Linked DNA regions of Homo sapiens: region 1 is linked to region 2. The links are contacts of gene promoters, found by promoter capture Hi-C in human tissues and cell types (Jung and others, 2019). All regions are on one chromosome and are shown on one strand. Each heading gives the region's core, a stretch centred on a gene start or on the middle of the fragment in contact. The rest is flanking DNA. Distances are from core to core; before and after follow the strand shown.

Region 1 (6,756 bases), core at 1,367-3,866, 230 kb after region 2:
GTCCACAATTTTTAAAGCACATGAAGAGGCCAAAGCAAACATACCTAAGGGTCAACTTTGACCCACAGGCAGCAGATTGTGAGTGCGGCTGTGGCTTGCAGGGTGTCCTCCCACACACAGCTCAGTGAGCTTGCCATGCACCAGTCCCGATGAGAACAACAGTGGACACTAACATTTACTACATGCCCAGCACGTGCTGACTGTTTTATATGAGTTACCTCATTGACTTATGAGTTCCATTCCACCACTCACTGGCTAAGCTTGGAGAGTGCAAGGGCCTCACCCGGACTCACGATCTGGCTCATGAGGCTGGCCCTCTGCCCGCAGCCCTCAGCTCCCTAGCCTGAATCTGGGCAGAGGAACAAGAGGCAGGAGGCTGAGGCCTGGGGCACGACACTGATAGGCAGGTCAGCCCAGAACAGTCCAAGGAGGCCTGGTTCTAAGGGAGGGAACATCCCACGGTGGAACATGAGCAGCAGTTCCCCAAGTGGGCTGCTCACATCCACCCTGGGCGTGTGCAGGATGACTCTAGGTAGTCCACAAATAAGCCCCCAAAGAATGTTCACAGTTACATGTTGATTTTAACAGGTACTCTATTTATGTCAAGGGAGACTGGATTTCCACTTATGGCAGCATAGAATGTTCTCTAATTGAGTTAGATGAGTTGACTAAAGAAATCTTTAGTAAATAGTCGAAGTGGTGGCAATGGGTATGGCAGAACTAGTGATGCTGAGAAAGATTTGGGAAGTCCTGGGGGAGATTTGAGAGTTTTGATGGGTGAAGTAGGGTTCAGGTGGGCCTTCCAAGGGTGCATGAAATCTACCCCAGGGAGAGAAAGAATGACCTACAAGTTGGGGCCATACCCTAGCAGGCTGCAGGCTACCTATGCCCTGAAAACGTTCTCAAAAATCAGGAATTTTCATGTAAAAAATCCAGATTTCCAGTTTCTCTTGAAAAGCAGGGTGTTCTGTCCATGCTGAGCACATCCCCTCCAGTTCCCCAGGGCCCCCAGCCCTGTGGGATATGGTATCAGCTGAGACAGGCAGTGGGGGGGGGATGCAGTGACAGGTGACACCACAGCTGAGGGTAGTGAGGCCAGGCCTTCATGGTGGCACAGCCAGGCCCCATGGCTGCTGTGTGAGTCTGCATTGCTATAAAGGAACACCTGAGACTGGATAATTTATTTAAAATAAAATTTTAAAAAGGCTGTACAGGAAGTATGGCACCCGTATCTGCTTCTGGTGAGACCTCAGGAAGCTTACAATCATTGTGGAAGGCAAAGGGGGAGCAGGTGCATCACATGACAAGAGAAGGAGCAAGAGAGTGAGGAGGAGGTGCCAGGCTCCTTTAAACAACCGGCTCTCACATGGACTCACAGAGCGAGAACTCACTCATCACTGTGGTGAGGGCACCAAGCCACTCATGAGGGATCCGTGCCCATGATCTAACACCTCCCCCGAGGCCCACCTCCAACACTGGGGGTCACATTTCAACATGATATTTTGAGGGGACAGACATCCAAACCACATCATATGCTGGCCTCTGCAGCCTCCTCCCAGGCAGGGCTGCCAGGTGCTCACCCCTCATAGGCCTGGCTCTGTGAATTACCACAGGGCCCAGGTGAGGAGGATGGACAACTTGCCTGGTGGCGCGTGGGCAGCTCCCTCAGGGCTGGCAACACCAGCCACCCTCCTCGGCCCTGTGCTCCTCCACTGGTACTGCACCTGGCCGCAGGGGCTGCAGGGGTCACAGGGGTATGGGAGCCATGGACTGGGGGGCTTTGGCTCAGGAGGTGGCTCCTGAGGACAGAGGCAGTGTTCTGTCCCTTCTGGTCAGACCCATCTGCCCAGCATATGCTTGAGTTTTGCTTTCATAAAAATATCCACATGTCCTGGCAGTTCTCAATAGTTCTGACTATTTAGGAAAGATAAGTATACACCTTCTTCAAAGTTCAGAAATGAAGGTGCTGTGTGGCAAGACACAAAGGTGCATGAGTCCAGGCTCGCAAAAGTCGTGATGCCAAGAAAGATCTGGGAAGTCTGGGGGGCGTCGAAGAGTTTTGATGCGTGAAGTGGGGCTCGGGTGGGCCTTCTGAGGGTGCGAGAAATCTACCCCAGGGAGAACAGATACCAGCCTGAATTAAGTCGGCTGCTGGCCTCTCCTCAGCTCAGCCCAGAATGGGAGAGGAGGCTATGGACTGGCACGAAGAAGGATCTTTGTCACGTGTGCTTAGCATTGGATGGCAGGGCCAGGCTGGGCTGGCCCCTGTGGCACCACCAAGACCCCTCCCTACAGGCTCCACTGGGGCTGGGGAAAGGAATGTGCACCTATGGAGTCCTGCGCGCATATGGAGGCCCACTCAAACCCTGCGAGTGTATGGAGCCCCGCTTGCATGTTTGGAGCCCTGGCAGCCCCCACCTGATGTGCCTGCCCCAGGCAGCATGGAGCACTTCCTGGAGGAAGTAGGTCTCAGCCAGCCTTTTCTAGATGGGCACGGGCAGGCACTGGATGGCTATTTAGGCATGAGGGTGCCACGAGCAGAGACCTGGAAGCTCAAGTAAGGTGCAGCCATTAGGGTGCCAGGAGAAGGAGGCCTAGTGGCCCAGCCAGCCCCTGGGGTTGCCCTGTCCAGAGCCTACACCCACCAGGTCCTCACTCTGAACTGGCAGTGGCAGAACCACGACTTGAGAAAAAAAGTCCTTTCTCTGAGCTCTGTTCCTCTTTCCATTGCTCCCGCTCTTAGAGTCTTCCTTTTTTTAATATCCAATTTGGTCGCCTTCCTTGGGGACAGCCACAGAAGGGGTCCAGCCCTGTTGGCAGCCTCTTGCCCCCGCCTCCACTAACTCGCCTCCAGCACTACCTCCTCTAGCTGCCTGCATGCCAAGTCCCCCTCCAGTGCTTCCTGACACCCCTTCTCGGACCCCTCAATTTATCTACAGTCCATCTCTGCCTTCGAGCTCCTCCAGGGTGGGGAACAGGGAACAATCTGCCTGCCATGAGTCCGCAGCCACCAGCAGCGGGCTTGGCCAGGGTCCACGCTCTGTAACTGCCGTTTAGGTGGGGTCTGAGCCCCCGGCTGCCTGTGACATGTCTGCCCAGGTGGGCTGTGTCTCCACTGCAGCACCCACTGCTCTCCAGTGAGGGACTGGCCTGGCCCGAGCCTCCTGAGTTTGCTGAGTGAGGCCACTGCTGTGTAAGGCCCATTCCCTGGTGTAGTCTGCCTGTACCCCTCATCCCTTTGCCTCTTCGAGGCCTTCTCCTGGTCGACTGTGTGCTTTCAGTGGTGCCGGCCAGAGCGTCTAGCAGAGAGGCCAACTGCTGCCTCTAGCCCCTGAGCCCTTGCAGGGGTGTTTTTTGAAACTCAGTCCAGAAGACGTGAAATGGAGGAGGGCTGTCTGTCTTGCCTTCCTGACTAGAGGTAGAGGGTCCCCAAGCTGCAGGTCTGCTGTTGGTTCTTCAGGGCCTCTTCAGTCCACCTGACACCCACTCTTGATTTCTGGGTCAGGAGCCTGAGGAACTGCCTGGACTGTCCCTGTGCCTCATGTGGTGCTGGGACCCAGGAGCCACAAGAGGTAGTCAGCTGGGGCCACCACCTGAAGGGCAGTCTGTAGGGCAGGAGTTCCAGGCAAGGGAGCCGGTGTGCCCTGGGCCGAGGCAGCCTGCGGTGTCCTGTGGCCGGAGCCATGGGGATGGAGGCTGGAGGGAGGCAGGCAGGCAGAGGTGCTGCAGCGAGGCATCTTAACCCAGCTAAGGAGGGAGCGCAGACATCTGGAGCAGCAAGGGTGCTGACACTCACCCGAGGACATCACAGCCCTGCAGAGGAGGAAGACAAGCCAGGCCGCCCACCACTCTGGCAGGCATTTTGGTTGGGGATGGGCGGGCATAACAGGACACAGGAGGTCATCCGATGTCCACATTTCCCCACACAGAGTGGTCCTGCCTGGCACCGTCTCAGCCATCCCAGACAGATTTTCTGTTCAGCCTTGGTTGCCATATGAGGACTCCACCCAGAGGGCCCACATGGCCTCCTAAGTCACAAGTGGTTGGTGGTAAACCCAGGCCTAGAGCCCAGGTTTCTGGCTATCCCCCTGGAAGAGGCCCACCTTGGGCACTTGGGAACAACCCCTGACCATCCTTGAGCCCACGCTGCTGGGTGAGGCTGGCCGCCTTGCTGCAGGAAGCCTGGTTTATAAACAAGTCCAGTTACAGGAAGATCGGGAGGGTTTTTGGTTTTCACTGGACGTGGTTGTTTCATGGACCCACCCCAACAGGGAGCATGGCATGCTTGACCTTGGGAAAGGGAGGCCTTGGCTTAACGCCGAGAGCCTCATCTGCCAGCAGAGTGATGTGGTGTGGACTGAGGCTGCTCCAGCAGAATGGGCAGGGCAGGCCCCAGATGTGAACTAACTAGCTTGAGAGAGCACCTAGCCGGTCAAGCCTAGCCCACGTGGATCCAGTCCCACCTTCTTTCCATGTTGGTAGCAGAAGCTGGGAGTCCGGTTGCAGGGGTGGCTGAGTTGGCAGCGCCCGTAAGATGCTGTGGATTTGGATTTGGGTCCTGGAGGCAGGGAGGCCCAGTGTCATGGGTATGCTACCACCACACAACTATTTTAAAATAGAAGGCGCTGGCCCTAAATTTTTCTCGTATCATCACATTTATCTGCATCTTGTGAAAGTGCTTTGCCTCATGAACAGTCCCATAGTTGGGACTGTTTCTCCTGGATATAATTTACATTGTTGTGACAACTCAAAGTCATGATTAACACAAAAGTGGGACTTGGGGTCACTCAGTGGAGTGATCTGTGCAGTCACTTCTCCTCATTCATCCTCTCACCTGTCCGCTCTGTTAATGTGTACTATATAGAGGAGGTGGCATTTGCTGGGGAGAGCTGGCTGTGAGATGGGCATGGGCCCAGGAACAAGCACAGCCAGGCTCAGGAGGGGTGCATGTGGGGAAGGGACCTTTTCGCCTCTTTGCCACTGTATTTTGGGAGGTAGAGGGGGTTAGAGCTTTGACCACCACAGAAGGGGGTGAGACAGATGTGAATCACCTTCGCCAAATGAAAAAACCTAACCCAGAATGTTAGTTGCTTTGGGCTTCTGTGTCTGAAAGAGAGAGGCCCTTGCTTGCTGTTCTCTACAGACAGTCATGCTGGAGTGGGCCCTGCAGGCCTGGGCTGGAAGCGACACAGGACACAGCGGCCACAATCTACCTCTTCTCCCTGCTCCATGCTGTGGTCTGTGCCCAGGGCCCAAGGCAGCCAGAGGGCCCCTGCCCTCAGGAGCCAGACCCAGCCCCTCTGCAGATCTAGCAGGAGACCCCACTTTCTGCACCACTCGGGCACCCACACAAACACACCCTCATACCCCATGATCACCCCGGCTCCATCTCCTGCTCTCCCCACACGCTGGCCCCAGTGCTGGCCCTTGGGGCCTTTGCTTGGCGCCCTCAGGCTGGGTGTTCTTCCCTCCCAGTGTCCTCATCCCTCACAAGTCCCTGTTCAGATGTCATCCCACCCTGGGCCCTTTGCTGATCACTATCTAAAGGAGCAAAACACCCTCTTGACACTCCCCTCTCCCGAGCAGCTGGCACCACCTGTCATACGACACATGGATGTGTTGGCATCGCCTGTCTCCCACCAGAACGCCCACACTGGGCCTGCGTGATTCCCTCACCTCTGCAGCCCCGCCCCCGGTGCATGCCTGCATAGAGTAGGTGCTCGCTAGCATTCTTGATTAAATGAATGCACAGACTCCCTGGCCTGGGTCAGCCATGGCATTCTCCAAACCACAGTTCCTTGCCCTCTAAAGCAGTGGCTGGTGCTGTGCTCATTAATTCCAAAAGGCAAGAAACGAAATGGTCTCCCGCCCCAAGCTATGGAGAGCTCTTCAGGACAGCAGCCTCCCATCTGTCTCCCCAGAGGCAGAAGAGCCCCACACCTGGGTTGGGGTGGCCTCCCAGTTGACCACCAAAGGTGTTTCCAACCTCGAGGTTCTGGGCCCTGGCTGGTGACCAAGTGGGGAAGCCCATCTGGGGAAGGCAGGGAGGACATGGCCACGACTGTCGTGGTGGTGCCCTCCAGGCCTGCTCAGGGTGTGGTGGAGTCCAGGCATGGCAGGAGTGAGTGATAGAGCAAGCGCTTTGAAGCAAGCCAATGCTCCCAGTTCCCTGACCCTCACCGATGGGCTCTTCTCTCTCAGCACATTTTTAAAGTTTGGTTCCTGGCACCCGTTCCTATCAGGTGCTCTCTCATTCCTTTGCACATTTCTCTACACATATATGTGGGTCTTGCACCCCCTGGACTGTGGACTCCACCAGCATAGCGGCCCCACCTGGCCCACTCAGGCAGTCCTCAGAGTCTGGGACAGTGCCTGGTGCCCAGCGGGTGCTCTGAGGGCAATCATGGGCAGAAAGACAAGCAACGAATGCAGGAGTGAGCTTCTGCTTGTGCTGTGCCAGAGGGAGGCGCCCAGCACCATGGATGCCCTGTGGGGGCCATTGGAGGGAGTCTGCAAGCGCTTCCAGAAGGGCGAGTGCCTGAGTGTGCCCCAGCCGTGGCTTCCCTGGGTCCTGTCTTTGCGGAGAGCATGGTGATCCTTTGCTCCTCTTCACCCAGTTTGCAAGAGTGAGGTGGCCAGCTGAGGGCAGAGCTATGTGTTCTGGGGTAGGGATCTGCAGCTCTTAACAGCCTGCTGGCAGCCCTCATGCCCAGTGCTAGCCTCTGTTGTCTCTGAGCCAGGGCATGCGGGACCCAG
Region 2 (6,595 bases), core at 3,087-5,586:
CTTTGTATCTGATATAATTTCTCTTCTTTCCTCTTTCTTTCTTTCTTTTTTTTTTTTTTTGACAGAGCAAGACTCTGTTGCCCAGGCTGGAGTGCAGTGGTGCGATCATGGCTCACTGCAACCTCTGCATCCCGGGTTCAAGCAATTCTCGTGCCTCAGCCTCCCGAGCAGTTGGGATTACAGGCATGCACCACCATGCCTGGCTAATTTTTGTACTTTTAGTAGAGACGGGGTTTTGCCATGTTGGCCAGGCTGGTCCTGAACTTCTGGCCTGAAGTGATCTGCCCGCCTTCGCCTCTCAAAGTGCTGGGGTTACAGGTGTAAGCCACTATGCCTGGCCTTTGTCTTGATATAATTTCAAACTTACCATAATTATTCTTTTTAAGGACATTTACTTTGTTTATAATATTTTGCTACTACATACAATATAGAAAAGAAATACTTGGTACTAGAACATGCCTTTTCATGAAGACTACTTTCCTTGGGGCCCAAAAGAACAAGAGGCTGGGGCCTGAAACGCTTCCAGAGCAACTGTCTGGAGGAAGGAGTGAGTCTCAATGGTTTCTCTCCATGGGAATCTGTTTCTGAGACCCTTGGGCCAGCCACACAACCAGAGCCCACACAAGGAGGGAGACTTCGGTGATGTTGTAACACCAATCTCAGCATTGGTGAGATTCTGTTTTCTGGGGAAGTCTGGCTTTGGCCTCTGGCCAGCTTTCCAGAGCTTCTGCCTTTGATGCTTCAGAAGGCCACACCACCAGGCTAAAACCATACTTTGAAAGACATTTTCAGGATATGCTTAGCATGCAGCTTCTTCTCTTCAGCCCCACCTCGCCACGTGCCACATGGCTTAGGTTGCTGCTGTCTCTGAGCCTGCTGTTTTCTCTGTGCAGCACGTTCTTTCATCAATTTCCCTCGGTTCTGTGCAGCCTGGCCCTTCTCTTGCATCTTTGTCAGCTCAAATGCCTCTCCCTTAATAAGCATCCTCCTCCCTTGCACCAGTAACTCTCAGCCATGCTGCCTTATTTCTCCCAAAGCACTTCATCATTATTTGCCTTATTCATCCACAGTTGTATCCCTCCAAAATATCATGTCTGCCACACAGCAGGTGTTCAATCAATATTTGTTAGAATATTTGTTAGAAGATTTGTATTAGTCAGGATTCTCTAGAGGGACAGAACTAATGGAATATACATGGAATATATATATATCTCCTAAGCCCAGGCTACAGACTCTCAGGGTGAGAATTTCTGAGTCAGAGATAATGTTGTCCTCTTCCATCTTGGAATATGTATACATATATGTATATATATTCCATATATGTGTATATATATTCCATTATATATATATATATGTATGTTCCATTGTATGGAATATACATCCATATGTATATATGTATGTTCCATATGTATATATGTATATTCCATATATATATTCCACAGAATATATATATTTGACAGAACTAATAGAATATATATTCTATGTATATATTCTATACATATATTCTATACATATTCTATACATATATTCTATATATATTCTATATATTATATATTCTATATATATTCTATATATTATATATTCTATATATATTCTATATTATATATTCTCTATATATTCTATATATTATATATTCTATATATATTCTATATATTATATATTCTATATATTATATATTCTATATATTATATATTCTATATATATTCTATATATTATATATTATATATATATATTCTATATATATATTCTATATATATAATATAATATTCTATATTATATATATAATATATTCTATATATTATATATATTATATATTCTATATATTATATATTATATATTCTATATATATTATATATATTATATTATATATTATATATATAATATATATTCTATATTCTATATATTCTATATATATTATATGTTCTCTATATATTCTCTATATATCTATATATTCTATATATATTCTGTATATATTCTATATATATTCTATATATATTCTATATATTCTATATATATTCTATATATACTCTATATACATTCTATATATACTCTATATATTCTATATATACACTGTATATATTCTATATATATATACTCTATATATCTATATATAAAATCTATATATATTCTATATATAGATATATAAACTATATCAAGTGATCTGCCTGCCTCAGCCTCCCAAAGTGCTGGGATTACAGGCATGAACCACCGTGCCCAGCCAAACCTTTTTTCTTTTCATTACCATTTCAGGATTCTGTTTAAAACAGAGGTAAGAAATGAGGTTTATTTGAAGCCAGGCCCTGTACAAAGTCTTTGTTAGTTGAAATATTTCTCAGAGGTACATAAAGCCTCTAAAGCTCTTATTACCTATTTACTAACCCTCCCTTTTAAATACGTTTACTGCTTTTACTACTAGATTTTTTTTAATGGGAGGCGTATTTTTACAGTTTCCTATTTGCAAGGTGGGAAAACGGAAACAAAGATTCTGTTCTCTTCTTGTAAGGACCCTAATCCCATCACAAGGGCCCGCTCTCATGATCTCATCTAACCTCCCAAACGTCCCATCTCCAAATACTATCACACTGGGGGTCAGGGTGTCCACATATGAATTTGAGAGGGACACAATTCAGTCTATGACATGGACTCTGTTCCTAGTGGAGAGTGGTGGAACGAAGGAGGCAGTTACTGCAAGCATGAATACATCCGCACATGGTCTGGCTCATCACAGAGGGCAAAGGTAAGATCCTGTGAACTTTGTGCTCCACCGCCACAGTGTTACAAAAACACTCTCTTCTCCAGAAAAATGGAAGGAGGAGGCAATGTTGGGCTAGCATTCCTGCCTGGTATCACTGGCTGAGACTGAGCAGTGGCTTCCCTCTTTGCACAGGAAAAGGGCTCTCCAGGTCTCCCAGGTCCCCACCACTCCCTGTCATCTTAGACTCTTTTAACTTCTCTTCTTTGATTTACCCACCACCTGGCCAGAGCAGACACTTAGGTTTGTTACCTCTGGTTGGTGACTATGGCTGACAACCTTTTTTGTGGTTCTAGACACTTCAGAATCTAGTGAGAGTTGTCGACCCTCTGTCTAGCAAGAGCACATCACAACACATTGTGCGTTCAATTTAGAGGTTTGTGGCCTCTCCTAAGCCCAGGCTACAGACTCTCAGGGTGAGAATTTCTGAGTCAGAGATAATGTTGTCCTCTTCCATCTTCAAACCATCTTTTCCCATGGTTGGCTCCTTCTCAACACTGGAGTTTCAACTCAAACAGCAACTCCTAGATGTCTTCCCTGACCCACAGTTAGGTAGCTGTCCATCCTCCCTCTCCTGCTCCTTTTTATCTCAGCTTTTATTTTCCCTAGGAGACTTCTCGCTCTCTGAAATGGTCTGGTTCAGGCTGTATTGTTTGACTTAGCCCTCACCCCCTGAATGTAATATTAGCGGGCACTGTAGCCCAGCGGAACCCACCAGGCACTTGGTAAGATCTTGCTGAAATGTATGAATGATTGGAAGTGTGTCCGGAGTTGGTTTCTTCCAGTGGGTTCCTAGTCTCGCTGACTTCAAGAATGGAGCCGCGGACCTTCGCAGTGAGTGTTAAAGCTCTTAAAGATGGCACAGTCCCAAAGAGTGAGCAGCAGCAAGATTTATTGTGAAGAGCAAAAAGCTTCTGCAATGCGAAAGGGCACCTGAGAGGGTTGCTGCTGCTGGCGGGGGTGGCCAGCTTTTATTCCCTTATTTGCCCCCTCCCCCACGTCCCCCCGCCCTCCCCCGCCCCCCGCCGTCCCCCCGCCCTCCCCCCCGCCCCCGTCTTCCCGCCCCCCCCGCCCCCGTCTTCCCCCCGCCCACCCCGCCCCCCCCGCCCCCCTTCGCCCCCCCATGTTCCGTTTTTGTCCTATCAGAGCGCCCTTTTTTCAATCCTCCCTGTGATTGGCTTCTTTTAGGATCCTGCTGATTGGTGCATGTTACAGAGCACTGATTGGTGCGTTTTACAGAGCGCTGATTGGTGCATTTTACAATCCTCTTGATAGCTATAGAAAAGTTCTCCAAGTCTCCACTCACCCAGAAAGTCCAAATGGCTTCACTTCTCAGAAGGATCCCTCCATCTCGGGCTCCTAGAGGCTTCAGGCAGGAGGAGCCACGTGAGAGAGAAACCCTGCCTACGGTGACCTCCAGTTCCTAGACCACCCACTCGGAGCACGGCGCTCGGCTGTGCCCGTGAGCCTCAGGAGGGCGGAAGCTTCCGGGCCGGAACGGGTGTGCACAGCGCGCCGGTTACGGGGGGGCAACTTAACGGGCCGGACCGCGGCGACTACCGAGGGAGGTGAGGGGCGGGCCGGGCGGGTGTCCGAGGCGGCGGCGGCGGCATGGCAGGGCGGCGGGTGAACGTGAACGTGGGCGTGCTGGGCCACATCGACAGCGGCAAGACGGCGCTGGCGCGGGCGCTAAGCACCACAGCCTCCACCGCCGCCTTTGACAAGCAGCCGCAGAGCCGCGAGCGCGGCATCACGCTCGATCTGGGCTTCTCGTGCTTCTCGGTGCCGCTGCCCGCGCGCCTGCGGTCGTCTTTGCCCGAGTTCCAGGCAGCGCCCGAGGCCGAGCCCGAGCCCGGCGAGCCACTGCTTCAGGTCACGCTGGTCGACTGCCCCGGGCACGCCTCCCTCATCCGGACCATCATCGGCGGTGAGCGCGGGCCGGGGCGGGAGCCGGGCTCAGGGACGCGGGCGGAGCGACCGGGCCCCGTGTCCGAATTCGCTCGAGCCTTTGCCGGGACGGGAAATCGCCCCACCTCATTGGTGGGGCTCCTGACGCCCCAAGAGGCGGACGTGACTTGCCTAGGGCTCCGCAGCAAGTGAGCGGAGGCTTTGAGATTCAGCTTTTCCCATCCAGCAGAACCGAGCTGCAAGGCGCCTTCCTTAAAAAAAAAAAAAAAAAAAAATCAAAAAATCCCTACCAAATGTGTTTATAATACATGGTCAAGTAAAGAAAACTCAAAATAAGAAAACTCACAAGCTACAAAAAGGGTATACATACAAAGGCTGTCTTCATTCACCTGTCATTTGGTCTGATTCCCGTTCCTAGAGCCAACCGCTGCTACCAGTTTTTGTATATCATTTCAGAAAGGCTCCACGTCAATACAAGCATATCTGTGTGTATGTATAAATCCCTCTTTCCCTCATCCTTTTAGACACGATTTCACTCAACATTGTGTCTGGAGAGTGCCCCATATCTGTACACAAAGCTACATCATTCTTTTTAAAGCTCACATAGAATTCAACTGCACCCTTGTACCAACATTTTCTTTTTCTTTTTTTTTTTTTCTTTTTGAGACAGAGTCTTGTTCTGTCGCCCAGCCTGGAGTGCAGTGGCACGATCTCGGCTCACTGCAACTTCCGCCTCCTGGGTTCAAGCGATTGTCCTGCCTCAGTCTCCTGAGTAGCTGGGATTACAGGCGCGCGCCACCACGCCCGGCTAATTTTTTTGTATTTTCAGTAGAGACGGGTTTCACCATGTTGGTCAGGCTGGTCTCAAACTCCTGACTTCATGACCCGCCCGCCCTGGCCTCCCAAAGTCCTGGGATTACAGGCGTGAGCCACCACGTCCGGCCTGTACCAACATTTTCTGAACAAATCTTTTAATGATGGACGTTTATGCTGTTTCCAGTATTTACAAACCATTTTGCAGTGAATATTCTAGAACAGAACTCTTTGGTATGTTCGCATATATGTAGGATAATAGATAATAACTGGCTGGGGCAAGGGGCATGTGTGTTTTCGGTCGTGGTGGGTACTGCCAAAATGCCCCACAAAGAGGTACCATTAATTTTTAATTATACATGTAATACATGAATACATGCTACTTGTGAAGAAATAGAACATCACAAATAAGACAAACATTCCCTTACCCACTCCTCTGTCCTAAATTCTGTACCCCTCCTATCTCTGCAAATGAAAAGACCCGTTTTTTGTTTTTTTGTTTTTTTGTTTTTTTCTGAGATGGAGTCTCGCTCTGTTACCAGGCTGGAGTGCAGTGGTGCAATCTTGGCTCACTGCAACCTCTTTCTCCCCGGTTCAAGCGATTCTCCTGCCTCAGCCTCCCAAGTAGCTGGGACTACAGGTGCACATCACCACACCTGGCTAATTTTTATATTTTTAGTAGACATGGGGTTTCACCATATTGGCCAGGATGGTCTTGATCTCGACCTCGTGATCCCCATGCCTCGGCCTCCCAAAGTGCTGGGATTACAGGTGTGAGCCACTGTGCCTGGCTGAAAAGACCATTATTATACCTTTGTGGATTACTTTTCCAGACCCATTTAACTCCACTTAAATATATGGATAGAGTTTTAAAACATGTTTTGTTTTTAGAAAAAATGATACAATAATATAAACACATGGTATAAAAGGGTATATAGCTAAAGAAGTATACTTCTCACTGCTGACCCCAGTACCTGATTACCTTTCTGTTCCCATTTTCTTGTGTTTCCTTCCAGCAATATTCTGTATGCCACACATGGGAATATATATTGGGCAGATGATAATTGGCTTGGTGGCAGATGGCCTCATTGGTCACTGGGCATTCTGGGTCCCAGCTATAAT

The links. Contacts are between HindIII fragments. The study calls those that stand out against the background at their distance.
Region 1: a contact is called between a fragment that was not itself captured here and the fragment with the promoter of EEFSEC in region 2, in 1 of the 25 tissues and cell types used here (lymphoblastoid cells).

What each region holds. Positions count from the first base shown.
Region 1 is chr3:128,385,434-128,392,189 of GRCh38, forward strand. The region is part of intron 6 of EEFSEC (eukaryotic elongation factor, selenocysteine-tRNA specific); the gene reads left to right. Among named protein-coding and RNA genes, the nearest start is that of DNAJB8-AS1, 75 kb to the right of the region's middle. RefSeq lists a silencer at 1-267 and enhancers at 3,027-3,616, 3,617-4,204. The HindIII fragment of the contact is 3,717 bases long and covers 759-4,475 here.
Region 2 is chr3:128,149,145-128,155,739 of GRCh38, forward strand. It overlaps EEFSEC (eukaryotic elongation factor, selenocysteine-tRNA specific), which reads left to right and starts at 4,337. Exons shown (of 7, transcript NM_021937.5): 1 at 4,337-4,679. The coding sequence starts at 4,364. It also overlaps a transcript of RUVBL1 not described here. RefSeq lists an enhancer at 3,968-4,197 and a silencer at 4,328-4,847. The HindIII fragment of the contact is 4,118 bases long and covers 3,950-6,595 here.